Linked DNA regions of Homo sapiens: region 1 is linked to region 2. The links are contacts of gene promoters, found by promoter capture Hi-C in human tissues and cell types (Jung and others, 2019). All regions are on one chromosome and are shown on one strand. Each heading gives the region's core, a stretch centred on a gene start or on the middle of the fragment in contact. The rest is flanking DNA. Distances are from core to core; before and after follow the strand shown.

The links. Contacts are between HindIII fragments. The study calls those that stand out against the background at their distance.
Region 1: a contact is called between a fragment that was not itself captured here and the fragment with the promoter of SMOC2 in region 2, in 1 of the 25 tissues and cell types used here (adrenal gland).

The regions. Positions count from the first base shown.
Region 1 is chr6:167,700,514-167,707,974 of GRCh38, reverse strand. No RefSeq gene overlaps it. Among named protein-coding and RNA genes, the nearest start is that of LINC02487, 8.0 kb to the right of the region's middle. RefSeq lists enhancers at 1-353, 4,151-4,692. The HindIII fragment of the contact is 5,604 bases long and covers 1,981-7,461 here.
Region 2 is chr6:168,436,076-168,443,446 of GRCh38, reverse strand. SMOC2 (SPARC related modular calcium binding 2) reads right to left here and starts at 2,263. Exons shown (of 13, transcript NM_001166412.2): 1 at 1,993-2,263. The coding sequence starts at 2,076. The HindIII fragment of the contact is 15,076 bases long and covers 1-7,371 here.

The DNA of each region.
Region 1 (7,461 bases), core at 3,533-6,032, 740 kb after region 2:
CATGGGGCATCGTGACAACATATTTAGCAAAATGCCACAGCTGTCATACGTGTGTTTCTCCAGCTGCTGCTTCTGAGCCAGCTTCCCAGGCCTCGGATAGACCAGAGTTCGCTCATCATGCCGTCTCTTCAGTGACTGATTACGCGGGAATTCGGGAAGTGCCGACTTTCCCCGGATGACTGGGTTTCTTGATGTGATACTCCGCTCAGCAAATCCTACCTTCCTTTCCCTTTGCAATTCTTGAGACCATTTTCTGCTTGACAATAAAGTGACCTTAAGGCACCGTGTTCATTTCAGTTTCAGACAGTTGTTTTGCTCCTTTTTTCCTGTGAGAGAAAGACACGAAGCCCCCTTCCCTGCTGCCGACTTTCTTGGTGTGTCCCTGATGCCAGGCCACCTGTGTCTTCACGGGAAACTCCACAGACCAGGGGCTGTGTAAGATGTCTGGGTGATGTACAGTCACTTTCTGCAAACTTAGAGCATGAAATAGTCAGGACAACATGTCAGCCAGGTCATACCCTTCAGTTGACTATAGTTTTGTCTGGGAGTGAAATTCTAAACTGCCAAGCAGCTTCTGTGTTATGCTGTAATCATTTAGAGCCTTCTCATTTTTGTAAGACTTTTGACTTATCTGTTTCTTGCTTAAATGCTTTCTTCTTTAGTTACGCCTTTCCTGGATGGACATGCGGGCTGTGCTATGTCTGGAGAGGCACCGGGAATCCAGTCACTGAGGCATGCTCACCGTGGCTTCAACTGTGGGCATTGATTTCTTCCCTGAAACCCTGGAGGAGACACATCGGGGCTGTTCTCCTGGCTTCTTCAGGTGTGTGTTCACACCTGCATCTGGGCCTTATGGCCTCCCTCACGGGGCCACATGGGAAGGCCGGGTGCAGGGAGGCTTCTGTGGTGGGGCTGGGGGTGTCTTGTGAGCTTCTTCCTCTCCCTCTTTTCTTCCTTTGTTGTTGTTTTTTTAAATCATGAAGGAAGAGTGATTCCCAGAATCTCACCCCTCTGGACTTACCCTTGGTCTCATTGGCCAGAGCTGGCCACGTGACTACCATACTGGCCATGGAAACTGAGGCAGCAAATATCTGGGTTTTCAGGCTATGGTGGGAACAGCTGTTGAGAACAGCAGCCGGGTCTCAATCGTGGACTGAAGTAAAGCTGGCTGTAGGTCCTCATCCTGCTGTCCCGTCGCTGCAACGAACCGCAGCTCCTCTCATCAACAGGGGCTCCTTTCCCACCCTTGGAGGCCGCGCAGCCTCTGACTTGCTTTGGCCGGTAGGAAGGGGGCCTTGCCCAGCCGAGGCCTAAGACGCCGTGAGCTCTTGCAGTTCCCACGAAGCCCTGTACTGTCACGAGCATCTGCCTGGGGCCCTGAGAGTCTCTGCGGGGCCCAGCTGGCGTGGGAGGGGGCTCGGCAAAGCTAGGTGAAGCCACCCAGCCGAGCCGGCTGAGCAGATGCATTCATTCTCCTCCGCCCCAGCTCAGAGAGCAGCCCTGCCCCAACACCACCTCGACGGTGAGCAGGCGCCAGTGGTGGTGGTTACGTGCACAGAGGTTTGTGGTTGTTTCTTGTGGTTACCACTGTGGCAATAGATAACTGATAATGGAAACAATAGCAACTACAGACGCCCTCACTATAGAATATTTAGAGGGCTAAAAATGTGTAAATACAGAAAATCACCCGGAAGCCTACCCTGCAGAGAAAACTATTATTAACACTTGGCAGGGGTGCCTTTATTTTTCTATATACTCCTTTTTCAAGTGTAGACATTATACGGTATGTAATTTTTTTCATTTAATGGTAAAAGTTTGTTTTTCATTTTAATGAACACTCTTCTTAAATATCAGTGTAATAGCATGTAAATATTGGGTTATTTGTATAGTTCAAAATTTGTATAAGCATTCCAATTTTGGATATTTGAATTTTTAAAATATTAATGCAATGAACATATCAGTACATAATATTTTTGCTCATATGCACTTTACTTCTTTCCTTAAGATGTATTCTTAGAGATGGGAGTCCTGGGCCAAAGGCAGGTGGCAGCGTCCCCGTCCTGTACCCATCCCGCTGCCTTCTAGGAAGCTGGGGCTGGGTCGTGTGCCCACATCCCATGGATGGAGAGTTCTGTTTCACTCACCATCAGCAGCACAAAGCGTCATCATTTGAAATGTTTCCTTCATGCTTCTAGAAGAAAGGTGTTTTCATTTTAACTCCAGTCGCATGGTGCTCACCTGCTGTGGTGCGTGTCTGTCTCCGCCAGCCGCAGGCACCAGCACGGGAGGCTTGTGTGGCCCAATTCTGGCATTGATATTTGTGGGAACGTGGGTGGACAGGGCCCGAGCAAAGTTTGCTAGTCCCTGAGAAAACAGCCCAAGAGGACACATCTCTTCCTCTTCCACTGGCCATGGTCAGATCTGAATGTGACGGTGGGACCATCGCAGCCTCTCTCGACCCAGGGTCCTGGCTGCCTGAGACGCGCAGAGCTCCTGAACTAACCAACCCTGAGCTCGCCCTGCCCGGATCTGCACCTCCGTTCTTTAAGGAAATGCACGTGGTGCTGCTCCAGCCGTCAGGCTTGTGCGTGTTCTCTGCGGCTGGCGCCTCCCGCGTGCCGTCCTGTGGCCTCGCCCTCCTCCTACTGCTGCTCGGCAGCTGGGGGCTTCTCTCCAGGGTCGTGTGATGGCCTTTTGAAAAATGTAACCAATAAACTCAGACACCTGGAAGCTGCAAAGTGTGTATGTGCCTCTTAATAAAAGATTTTTTAGCATGCTTGTAATTACAAATTTGTTTGCAATTAATATTAAATAAAGAAATAACAAAGAAGAAAAAGTAGATTTCTGGTTTGGTCCTTCCTGGGCCAGCTCTAGTTCAGGGGCTCTGAGGATGCTGTGGTCAGAGAGGCCCTACCAAACACCCCTCTCAAGACCTTTCTTCTCTGTATGGGTGGTGGAGACACAAAATAAACAGGGCTTTCCCTGTGAGGGACAGAAATAAAGAGGATTCAGAGAAGGCCACTCTGAGGAGGAGACATTGGACCTACCACGTGAAAAGAAAGAGAAGGAATTCACTTCAAGAAGGGTGAATTCTCATCAAGACCAGTGAAAGAGTATTTCAAGCTGTCTTGGTGCTGCACATTTGGCAGTAAAACCAGGAGCTTGGAGTACAGTGGTCTGAAGCAGCAGGTCCAGCGACAGCTGCCAGAGGAGGGTGGGCCTCAGGCTGACCCCGGGCAGGAGCTCTGTGCTGACCGTGGAGTCTGCTGGGGCCACTGTGCTATGTCTTCCACTGCTGGCCAAACCTTCGCCCAGGGTCCTGGCAGTGGCCAGAGGAAAACAAGCCAACCACGTTCAGACACGTTCCTGGAGCTGGGAGGAGTCTCTCTGGAACTGGGAGGTGTCTCTCCGGAGCTGGGAGGAGTCTCTCTGGAGCTGGGAGGAGTCTCTCCGGAGCTGGGAGGAGTCTCTCTGGAATGAGGAGGAGTCTCTCCAGAACTGGGAGGAGTCTCTCCGGAACTGGGAGGAGTCTCTCCGGAGCTGGGAGGAGTCTCTCCGGAACTGGGAGGAGTCTCTCCGGAACTGGGAGGAGTCTCTCCGGAACTGGGAGGAGTCTCTCCAGAACTGGGAGGAGTTGCTCCGGAACTGGGAGGTGTCTCTCCAGAACTGGGAGGAGTCTCTCCAGAGCTTTGAGGAGTCTCTCCGGAGCTGGGAGGAGTCTCTCCGGAACTGGGAGGAGTCTCTCCGGAGCTGGGAGGAGTCTCTCCGGAACTGGGAGGTGTCTCTCTGGAGCTGGGAGGAGTCTCTCCGGAACTGGGAGGAGTCTCTCCGGAGCTGGGAGGAGTCTCTCCGGAGCTGGGAAGTGTCTCTCCCGAACTGGGAGGAGTTTCCCTGGAACCCCCTCCCCTCCCAGGGCTGAGTCAGCGTCCGAGCCGGGAGCTGGGGCTGCCTTCCAGAGGCTGGCTCCCTCCACTGAGAGAGGCTCAGCCCTCCCTGGGCATTTGGGCTGTGTGGGAGACAGAGACACCTGCATGAGACCATCCTAGAAGGGAGGAATCGCATGGGTGGGGGCAGCTACCAACAGCGTGGAACACTCAGGGCCTGAGGCTGGAGGAGCCTGGTTTGCTCAGAAACAGAGGAGGCTGGCGTGGCTGGGACATGGCCCTGGGAGATTGGCAGACATGGGGCCTGAAATGTCTTCAAAGGCTGCCGACAGTGGAGCATGGGGGCAGTGTGAGGCAGGAGCTGAGGGTCAGCCCTCCACAGGCCAAATGTGTCCAAGCCCGGTTCCTTGAGAGCTAAGCCCAGGCCTTCAGGAGCTGAACCATGCCTGCCTTCCTCACTGGCCACATACGCCCTGTGGAGGGCTCCATGGTTACACACACACCGTGGAGTGGGTCCATGGCCACACACACACTGTGCAGTGATGACCCATACTCACCGTGGAGTGCGCCCTTGACCACACACTCAATGGGGGGTCCAGCAGGCAACAGAAGGAAGCAGTGAGGCTCTTATTCTTTGTGTAGTCGTGAGTCGCTTAGCAACGTTTCAGTCCATGATGGATGGCACAGACAACGGTGGGCCTCTGAGATGATCGTGGAGCTGGAAGACTTCTACTGCCTTGTGATGTCATTGCACAATGCATTTCTCACGCGTTTGCGGTGATGCTGGTATAGGCAAACCTACTGCGTTACCAGTTGTATAAACGTATAGCTCGTACAGTTGTGCATAGCACATTCTACTTGATAATGATGATGCGTGCTATACTATACATTTTATTGTTATTTTAGAGTGTACTCCTCCTACTAATTAGAAAAACAAGTTAATTGTAAAGCAGCTGCAGGCAGGTCCTGTGGGAGGTGTCCAGAAGAAGGCATTGTCATCACAGGAGGTGACGGCTCTGTGCGTGTCATTGCCCCTGCAGACCTTCCAGTGGGACCAGATGTTGGGGGGAAGACAGTGACACCGAGGACCCTGACCCTGTGTGGGCCTAGGCCACTGTGTGTTTGCCTCTTTGTTTTTAACAGAAACATTTTAAAAGTTAAAAAAAAAAATGAAAAAATAGAAAAAAGCTTATAGAATGAGAATATAAAGAAAGAAAATAATTTTGTACAGCTGTATAATGTGTTTGTGTTTTAAGCAAAGTGTTATAAAAGAGTCAAAAAGTTAAAAAAATTTAAGTTTATAACATAAAAAAGTTACAGTAATCTAAGGTTAATCTACTATTTCGAAAAGAAAACTATTTTGCATAAATTTAATATATCCTAAGTGTACAGTGTTTATAAAGCCTGCAGTAGTTATGGTCACGACCTGGGCCTTCAGATTCACGCTCCACACACTCACTGACTCACCCAGAGCAACTTCCCGTTCTACAAGCCCCATTCATGCTAAGTGCCCTAAACAGGTGCAGCATTTTTAATCTTTGATACTGTATTTTCTATTGTCCCTTTCTTATGTTTAGATACACGAATACTTACCATTGTATTTCAGTTGCCCACAGTATTCCCCACAGTCACATAGGGCACAGGTCTGCAGCCCTGGAGCAACAGGCTCCACCACGCAGCCCAGGTGTGTAGCAGGCTGCTCCGCCCAGGTGTGTGTCGGTGCACTCTGATGAAATTGCCTAATGATGCATTTCTCAGAATGGATCCCCATCATTAGGTGACACCTGACTATATTTCAGTATAAGTGTTTGTGTGTGAATTTTTAGCATCTTACTCTTCTTAATGGTTGATTGTCGGCTCTGCTTTTAAAGCTTTAAATTTCAAAAGCCTCATAATTGCTAAAACCATGGTTTTCCTTTTTTCTTTTTCTTTTTTTTTTTTTTTTAATTGAGACAGGGTCTCACTCTGTCACCCAGGCAGTGGCGTGATCTCGGCTTACTGCAACCTCCACCTCCCGGGCTCAAGCAATTCTCCTGCCTCAGCCTCTCAAGTAGCTGGGATTACAGGTGTGCGCCACTACTGCCTGGATAATTTTTGTATTTTTAGTAGAGGTGGGGTTTCACCATTCGGCCAGGCTGGTCTTGAACTCCTGACCTCAAATGATCCACCCACCTCAGTCTCCCAAAGTGCTGGGATTACAGGCATGAGCCATGGTGCCCGGCCATCATTGTTCTTTGTGATCTATGATAAATAGAAAGCAAATAAGTTAAACTTATCAAGTACTATTTATTAAGTGCTTGACAAGTGTTTCCCAGGTGTGGAAGACATATCATTGGTGTTTTGAGAAATCATTTCAGGTAATGCATGCAGAATAGTTTGATTTTAATGGATATTAGGGGAAAAAAGTACTATATTTTAAAAGAAAGTACTGCAGGCCCATGCTTTGGTAATTATTTTTACTTAAGAAAAATGCTATGCTGAGTTTTTAAGTTGAAAAGTGAGTCAACTTAAAAAAAGCATAAGGTAAATAACACTGTATGTGGTAAGAAAACATAGTTAAAAGTATGGTGATAGAAAACAGTTACTAAAGCTTGAGAATTGGAGAGCATGAATCAAACATACTCTCGAACCGAAGAGCTTATTTTCCACATCATGCATCTTTTTTTGAGTCTTTTTTCTTTAGGGTACCATGTGGCATATCTTACTCTGGCATTTGTGAATGGGCTATATTCTCTGCCGTCACTATCTTTGTCATTTTACAACATCACACAGCTTATTTAAAGTTACACGACTGTGTATGTTTAAGCTTTTCAAAATAATTACCTAACGTATTTGTGAAATACCACTCCATGAGACGCGGTGTGTGTGTGTGTTTTGGGAGAAAGGCCGCGGAAGGACATTTACTCTCCTCACGCTCCCGTGCTCCCCGTCTGGCCTTGCACTCATTTAATCCGGGGTTCCTGTTCCTGATCGTTTCTTTAGCCAAATTTTTATTTTGTAGATTTTATAGGAACTGAGTATCATAAATAGATTTTGAAGTTTCCTTCCTCCCTTCCTCCCTTCTTCCTTTTCTCTCTCTCTGTCTCTCTCTCCCTCCCTCCCTGCCTCTCTCTCTCTCTCTCTCTCTCTCTCTCTCAGATGGATTCTCGCTCTGTCACCCAGGCTGGAGTGCAATGATGTGATCTCAGCTCACTGCAACCTCCGCCTCCCAGGTTCAAGCTATTCTCCTGCCTCAGCCTCCCGAGTAGCTGGGACTACAGGCGCCCGCCACCACGCCCGGCTAATTTTTATGTGTAGAAATTTCTTATGCCACTTATTTTAACCAGTCTCTGGGGACTTGGCCAACATTTCTATAGCGGGACTTTTACATTTTTGAGCTAATCTTTGCTTCTTATCTCAGTTGACTGAATGTATTTTGCAGTTCATTTTCCCAGGAAGGTGTATACTTTGTATGCTCTTGCATATTTGACATAATTCCTACGCTTTTGATTAAGTTCTCTCTATTGACCAGCAGGCAAGAACGCGATGTCAAACATACAAGCCTGTCTACACAGGGAGGAAGATTTGCCTGTGCTGG
Region 2 (7,371 bases), core at 1,014-3,513:
AAGCCCACGTGGGGTATCAGCTCCTGCACAGAGACCCCACATGCAGCGGGTCTCACCGCAACCCAAGACATCCTTGGGGCAACCTCAAGGGGGCAAAAGGTGAGAGGGTTCAAGTAAATAGTTAGATGAGACAGGGGAGAGAAGACAAGAAAACCTGCCGAGTCTTAAACTGTTCTAATTACTAACTACCTTGATTCTGCTCTTCCAGGGGGGACCAACAGGCCCAACCCCACCCCCCACACACACAGGGCAGCAGGCAGATGGCAGTCTCTACTTTTTGCGCTTTCAGAAAATCTGAAAATCCGTGGCAACTGTAGGTACCTGCTGCTACAGTCCTGGAAGAAAATGCTATGATCTCCTTTGGAGAATTGGCCTTAGTTTCTCTGTCTCCTCTAGTGTGCTTTAAGAGTATGTGGGGGGTCTTTTTGTGAGTGTATACGTGAGTATATTTATGTCTAGATGCATGTACAGATGTGCATATACATGAATGCCTCCAGTGAGTATCCTCTGAGGGCCCCCTCTGGGGAGATAAAGGATCTTCAGGGAAAGCCTGAGTGTGTGAAAACCTCCTTGGAGCCCCAGTTAGCAGTTTCTAATCTACAAGTCATTTGTGAGACACAAGGCAGGGACCCCGGGCTGCTGCAGAAGAATTTGAGGTATGAGCAATGAACTCACAAACCATCCTTCACACTGCTAAAACGCAAAAGAAAGAAGACGAAGAAAAAGAAAAAGAAAAAGAAAAGATGCCCACATGACTGTTTTAAATTTGCTGAAAGGCAGAACCGACCACAGCTTATTTCAACCATCTTTATTTTCAATACAATAAACACCTTTAGGACAAGTCCCCGGCCACTTAAAAAAGACGGCTGTCCACCAGAGGCGTTCTCACTACCTTCGTGTTTTCTCAAACACTTGTTCAAAAACACATTTAAGTGGAATGTTTTCGTTTCTGGCGATTGCATTAATGATGGGTTTGCAAACCCTGCAAGCCCAGGAGGACGGCTGGAGCTGGGGGCTGCAGACACCCGGCCTTGGCCCAGCGGCCGCCGCGGGTTGGCTTGGCCGGCGGGGGCTTGGCTCAGCCCCCTCTACATAGCTCCTCGTTTGACACCGCGTGCGTTGGCCGGGCCAAGGCTGTCGCATAGAAGTTACAGCTCAGAAAGAAAAACACACAGCGGTCAACCGCGGTGACCCTCGCGCTCAGGAGCGCAGCATCCCTGCCACGAGGAAGAACCCAGAGGCCCCGCAGAGCGGGGAGCCGCCGCCTGCCTCCAGTTCTGTCCTGAGAAGGGAAGAAAGCGCTTCTCTAATAACACTCAGGCCCGTGAAGAATCATCTGTAACCTCATCTGCTTCTTCCTCGGCTCACTTACGAGGGTCTCTGGGAGAGTCAGACCCACGAGTGGGGCCCACGACTGGCAGCCCCTTCAGCCGGCGAGAGGCCCGGGATCCGCGCGGCGCACGAGCCCAAAGCGGTCGGGAGAACACGCTCCAGGCCGGGTCCCCGTGGGCGAGGTGGGCGCCCAGTCCCGGCGGGTCTGTCTTGGCCTTGGGACAGTCCGCGGGGCGGCGCCGGCGCTCCCAGACCTGGTTCCCCACAGGCTCAGGCCCAGCAGTGAGTGCGGGACACCCGAGCGCACCCGCAGCTCCCACTTGTCCGGGGTCTGCAGGACCCCAGGATCCTCTCACAGCCGGGTCAGAGCCCCCGAGGCAGGTGGGGTCCCAGCCGGGTGGAACCCGAGGAGCCCGTCGCAGCCGCAGCAGGACCCCGGCGGGCAGGGTCCCCAGAAGCCCATCCCAGCCGGGTCCCAGGCGCGCACGCTGCGTCCTACCTGCTCCAGCCTCGCCGGCAGGCGAAGGCTCCACGGCCCCCGGGGCCACCTGCTCCCCGTGCCCAGGCGCCTGGGCCTGGAGCGGGGCGCGGGGACCCGAACCCGGCCGGCTGCAAGAGGCGGCACCACTTGAGCTCCAGGTCCCGCGGGCCCGGGCTTACCGTGAGCGCCGAGAACTTCTGAGCGGGCACCGGCGGGAGCAGCCCAGCGAGCAGCGGCAGCCAGCAGAGCTGGGGGAGCAGCATGGTGGCGGAGGTGGCGGGAGCGGGAGATCGGCCGCGTCCTGCGCCCTGGCACTGCAGCCGGGAGAGCCCAGTGGGCGAGCGCGGCTGGGCGGGCGCGTGGAGGGGCGGCTCCGCGATGCTCTCCCCACCGCTCCCGGCGGCCCGGCTGGAGCAGCTCCCCTGCAGGCACCCAGAGGTCCTCCGCGTTCTTTGCGTCCGCCCTCGCTCCTGTCAAATACCCCGGAGCTTCCCGGATCCTCCCCTCCCGCCCGCCTCTCTCCCTCCCCCTCTCCTCCCCCAGCCCCACCTCCCAGCGCCCGCTGCCGCGCCCGCTCCGCTCCGGTGCCCGCTGCGGCCCAGAGGCCTCCCTGGCGCGGGTCTGCGGAGCGAGAGGTGGAGCGGGGGCCACCAGGGCTGCGCAGTGGCCTGTCCGGGCTGTCTCTGTGCCTCCTTCCCCGCGCGCACTCTCACACACACACGTGCACACTTACACACACGCACACCCAGGCACACGCACGCACTCATACCCACGCGCGCGCACCCTCGGGGGGCTTCCAAGCACAACCACGGGACGCACCGCGCCCTCCTCACGCCCCAGGGTCCAGGCCCGGTCCGCGCAGGATCAGCCCAGCGGGACTTTTCATCCACAAAGGTTAACGCCAAGCCTTGGCCGGTCCCCAGACTCCGGGGTTCTCCTTGACCTCTGCCCTCTAAGGCCCCCTGGTCCAGCCCAGAACATTGCCTCTCAGAGGTGCTGAAGGATCAGCGGCGCTCCAGCAAAGGCAGCTGGGAACACATGTCCAGGAAAGGCTGCGCCGGGGGCAGCCCGCCTTTGGCATCTTTACACGGGGTTATCCACTGCAGGGATGGGGGAATTTAGGTCCTAAAGATCCGGGGTCTGACCTGGGCTGTAGCCTTGATCCTCTCAAGTCGGGGGAGCATGTGGTTGGGCATCATTCACAGACACATGTGGCTGTTTTTAAACAGCTCTGTCAAAGCATTTCAGGTGTTTGTGCGGGGAGCACAGGGCTTGTGGAGGTTGTAAACTCACCCACGAAGACTACGTTGGAAACCAGGAAATTTTTGCACACCCAGACTCTGGATAATATCCACTGCAGACAACATTGCTGACATAGTTTAGCCTTGGCTTATAACTTTACAGGAAAAAGCCCTAATTCTGTCTCACACAGAAAGCCAGAAGAGTGAAGATTTGTTCAAGAACAATGAATCAATTGACTTGTCAGGGGCATTGGGAAAAGCACAAAACACAGAAAATCCAAATCTGAGGTTTCATCCGATGTCTAGCCCACTGCTTTGGCTATGAACTTTGGGGGAGGGGGCTGTATCAGCAAGTTCTGGGACTGGCTGCTGAGGCAAAGGCAATGCTATTGCAACCTTTCCCACACAATTTTATCAGGAAAGTGATGTCCGTCGGGCCACGGAAAGACGGGAAAGAAATGCACCTTTTCCTGAAGGAGGGCTACTCTCAGAATTCTCCTTAAAATTCCAAAGCCCAGGGAATCTATTAAGCACTTAAACACATTCCTCCTGGTTTAAGGACTTAGAAGGAAATTATAATAAAACTCTTGAGGGACTGCTCCTGGGTCCAGAAAAACAGGTGAGCAGAGCAGCTGCAAATGATTAAGTAAATAGGAATCACTGTTAGGGAACTGCAGTGAAAATTAAAGTAAAAAGAAAATAAACACTACATACCACTAATTCTAAGATTATCCAAAGAATAAAATTTACACTCGAAGCTGACATACTTCCTTTAAGAAGTATTTGCTACTAAAGAACCTGTTTTTCACTTTCCACTTTGTTGAGAGTACTGCTCGTCAGAACTCAAAAGTTTGAAAGCATGTTCATTTATCCACCATCGTCCGCTGCAAGAATGGCAGACAAGAAGCAGACTTAATTATTCCCATTCTACAGATGAGGAACAAAAGTCAAAGGGGCCAAATGTCTTAGCCAGATCTCCTAAGCAACAAAATCATAAACAGAATGCAGATGTTAAAACCTGCAATACTGGCAAATCCATGTCACTTCCTCTGGCAATATGGAGAACAGAAGAAAATCCTTGGCCCTCCGTGCCTTGTATTCAAGAATCCCAACACGTCTTTCATGTAGCAACTCCAGAATCCTCTGGGAACTCTAGGAAGATAAATGAAATGCATTTGTCCAAAACTCTGACAGATGAGGCAGGTTTGGAGCCTTTGAAACCCCTTTCAAATCTGGAGGAGCTCATGTGTCCTGAATGCCAAATTTTAGTTTCTCAAAATTCTAGAAATGGAGTTTGGAGAGATAATCAGGTTCCATTTTTATGGAGAAAAACAATACATTTATTTAAAACACTGGGAAAGAGTTATGTCTGTCTTTTATTTGTAAGTCTCCAAGAAAGTTATTACTGGCAGGAATGCCAGAGAGCTGTCATGTTAGAAAGGATAGAAAAGTAATTCACTCAGTTCAAAGTTAAGACAGGAAGTGATCAGCTCTATACTTTCCAGAGAGTTCCTCTAGGATGCAGGAAGAAGTTCCCCTCTCTTGGAAATGTAGGTTTTTTTGTTTTTTTTTTTAATTAAAAAGTGATGCAGGGCCCATTCTAAAATGTGGCTTATGCATTCAGAATTTAAATGCCTGTCACTGATGAAAGTTACAATAAAGAACAGCAAGAGAAACTAATTACCAAAGACTCCAGCTGTTTTCACATTTCTAAACTAACTTTCCCTCTTAGGCCATTAGCAAAATGCTTTATCATGAGTATTGGCTTCCTTTTTATTTATTTTACTATGCTAAAACTGCAAAAGGATTTTATTTTCATTATAGAAATGATATAATTTAGTTATTATTTCTGGCTAATTCATGTTTAGCCAGAAAACTTTTTGTCAGCTATTTTCCCATCTCAATATGCCAAGCATAAGTTTAGTCAAATATCTCTTTGTTGATGCAGTGACTTCCAGAAATCCCCTCTGCCATCACTCTGAGTATCATCTGGGACTGAACTCAGGTCACTGTTCATACTCTGAGAATCACCCCACATCATCAGTCACCTGCCAGTCACTTATTAATGTTTTCTCCTAGTTTCTACTTAATCATGGGAGCAGGAGTTTTCACCGTTCACCTGGACTTTCTTAGGTAAGTTCTGTGTGATTTTCCTTTTAGACTACCCCCAGGCTGGACCCGAGAATCTGTAGTTCCCCAGGTTTCTGGAGTCTCTGTCCTCTTGTTGGCTTGTTCATTCTGATGACTTGCATCTTCCTTTTAACTTGTTCCCTTCAACCTACGGAAAAATGATGCAGGATCCCCACATCAATCCCAGGTTTTTAGCCCAAGTTCTGCAGCTTCACAAACCTGTGAGCCATATAGAAAGGAAACCACATCGGCAGAGTTGACAAAATCAGAACAGAGCACCGCCGAGGCTCACCGTCACCGCGGCTGCAGGATGAGGCCAGCGTTGACACACCACGTTGAAAAGTGGACAGTGGAGTTGTGTGTTTGATCCTTGGGCCTGACTCAATGGCTTTCTTCCTATTTTGATATATTTAAGTAACAGAGAATTTGGACTTTGTGCTCAACAAAATAATTAAACAAGTTTCTTCTTTTTTTTTTTTTTTTTTGAGATGGAGTCTTGCTCTGTTGCCCAGGCTGGAGTGCAGTGGTGCAATCTCGGCTCACTGCAAGCTCTCCCTCCCGGGTTCACACCATTCTCCTGCCTCAGCCTCCCGAGTAGCTGGGACTACAGGCGCCCACCACCACGCCCAGCTAATTTTTTGTATTTTTAGTAGAGACGGGGTTTCACTGTGTTAGCCAGGATGGTCTCCATCTCCTGACCTCGTGATCCGCCCACCTCGGCCTCCCAAAGTGCTGAGATTACAGGCGTGAGCCACCGCGCCCGGCCTCTTCTTCCTTCTTAAGATGCCTGAGGACAATTTTTATGATAATACTTTTCAGGCACTTTGTGGCAAATTTTTAAAAAATAATTTCAGCTTTTATTTTAGACTCGGGGGCACACGTGCAGGTTTGTGACATGGACATATTGTGTGACTCTGAGGTTTGGGGTATGAAAGACGCAGAGAGTGAGCATAGCACCCAATAAGCAGTTTTATCAGCCCTTGTTCCCTGCCCCACCTTTCTAGCAGGCCCTGGTGTCTACTGTTCCTTCTTTATCTCTGTGTGTACCCAGTGTCTCATTTCTTCTTTATCTCAATGTGTACCCAGTGTCTAGCTCCCGCTTATGAGTGAGAACATCCAGTATTTGCATGTCTGTTCCTGCATTAATTCACTTAGGATCATGGCCTCCAGTTGCATCTATGTTGCTGCAAAGGACATGCTTCCGTTCTTTTGTGGCTACATAGTATTCCGTGGTGTCTATGTACTACATTTTCCTTGTCCAGTCCACTACTGATGGGCACCTAGGTTAATTCCATGTCTTTGCAATTGTGACCGGTGATGCAATTAACATACAAGGGCTTGTGTCTTTTTTGTAGATGGTTTATTTTCCTTTGGATACATACCCAGTAATGGGATTGCTGGATCGAATGGGAGTTCTATTTTTAGTTCTTTGAGAAATCCCCAAACTTCTTCCCACAGTGGCTGAAATAATTTACATTCCCACCTACAGTGTATAAACATTCCATTTTCTCTGCTGCCTCAGCAGGATCTGTTGCTTTTTGACTTTTTAATAATAGCCATTCTGACTGGTGGGAGATGGTATCTCATTGTGGTTTTGATTTGCATTTCTCTGATGATCAATGATGCTGAGCATTTTTTAATATGTTTGTTGGCTTCTCGCATGTCTTCTTTTGAGAAGTGTCTGTTCATGTCCTTTGCCCACTTTTTACTGGGGTTGTTCTTTTGCTTATTGCGTTGTTTCAGTGCCTTCAGACTCTGGATATTAGACCTTTGTCCCATGCATAGTTTGCAAATATTTTCTCCCATTCTATGGGTTGTCTGTCCACTCTGCTGATCGTTTCTTTTGCGTGCAGAAGCTCTTTAGTTTAATTAGGTCCCACTTGCCAATTTTTTTGTTGCAATTGCTTTTGAGGACTTAGTAACACATTCTATGCCAAGACTGATATCCAGAATGGTGTTTCCTACATTTTCTCCTAGGATTTTTATAGTTTGAGGTCTTTCATTTAATATTTAATCCATCTTGAGATAATTTTTGTATATGGTGAAAGGTAGGGGTCGAGTGTTAATCCTCTACACATGGCTAGCCAGCTATTCCATCACCACTTACTGAACAGGGAATCCTTTCTCCACTGCTTATTTTTGTTGACTTTGTTGAAGATCAGATGGTTGAAGGTATGTGGCTGTATT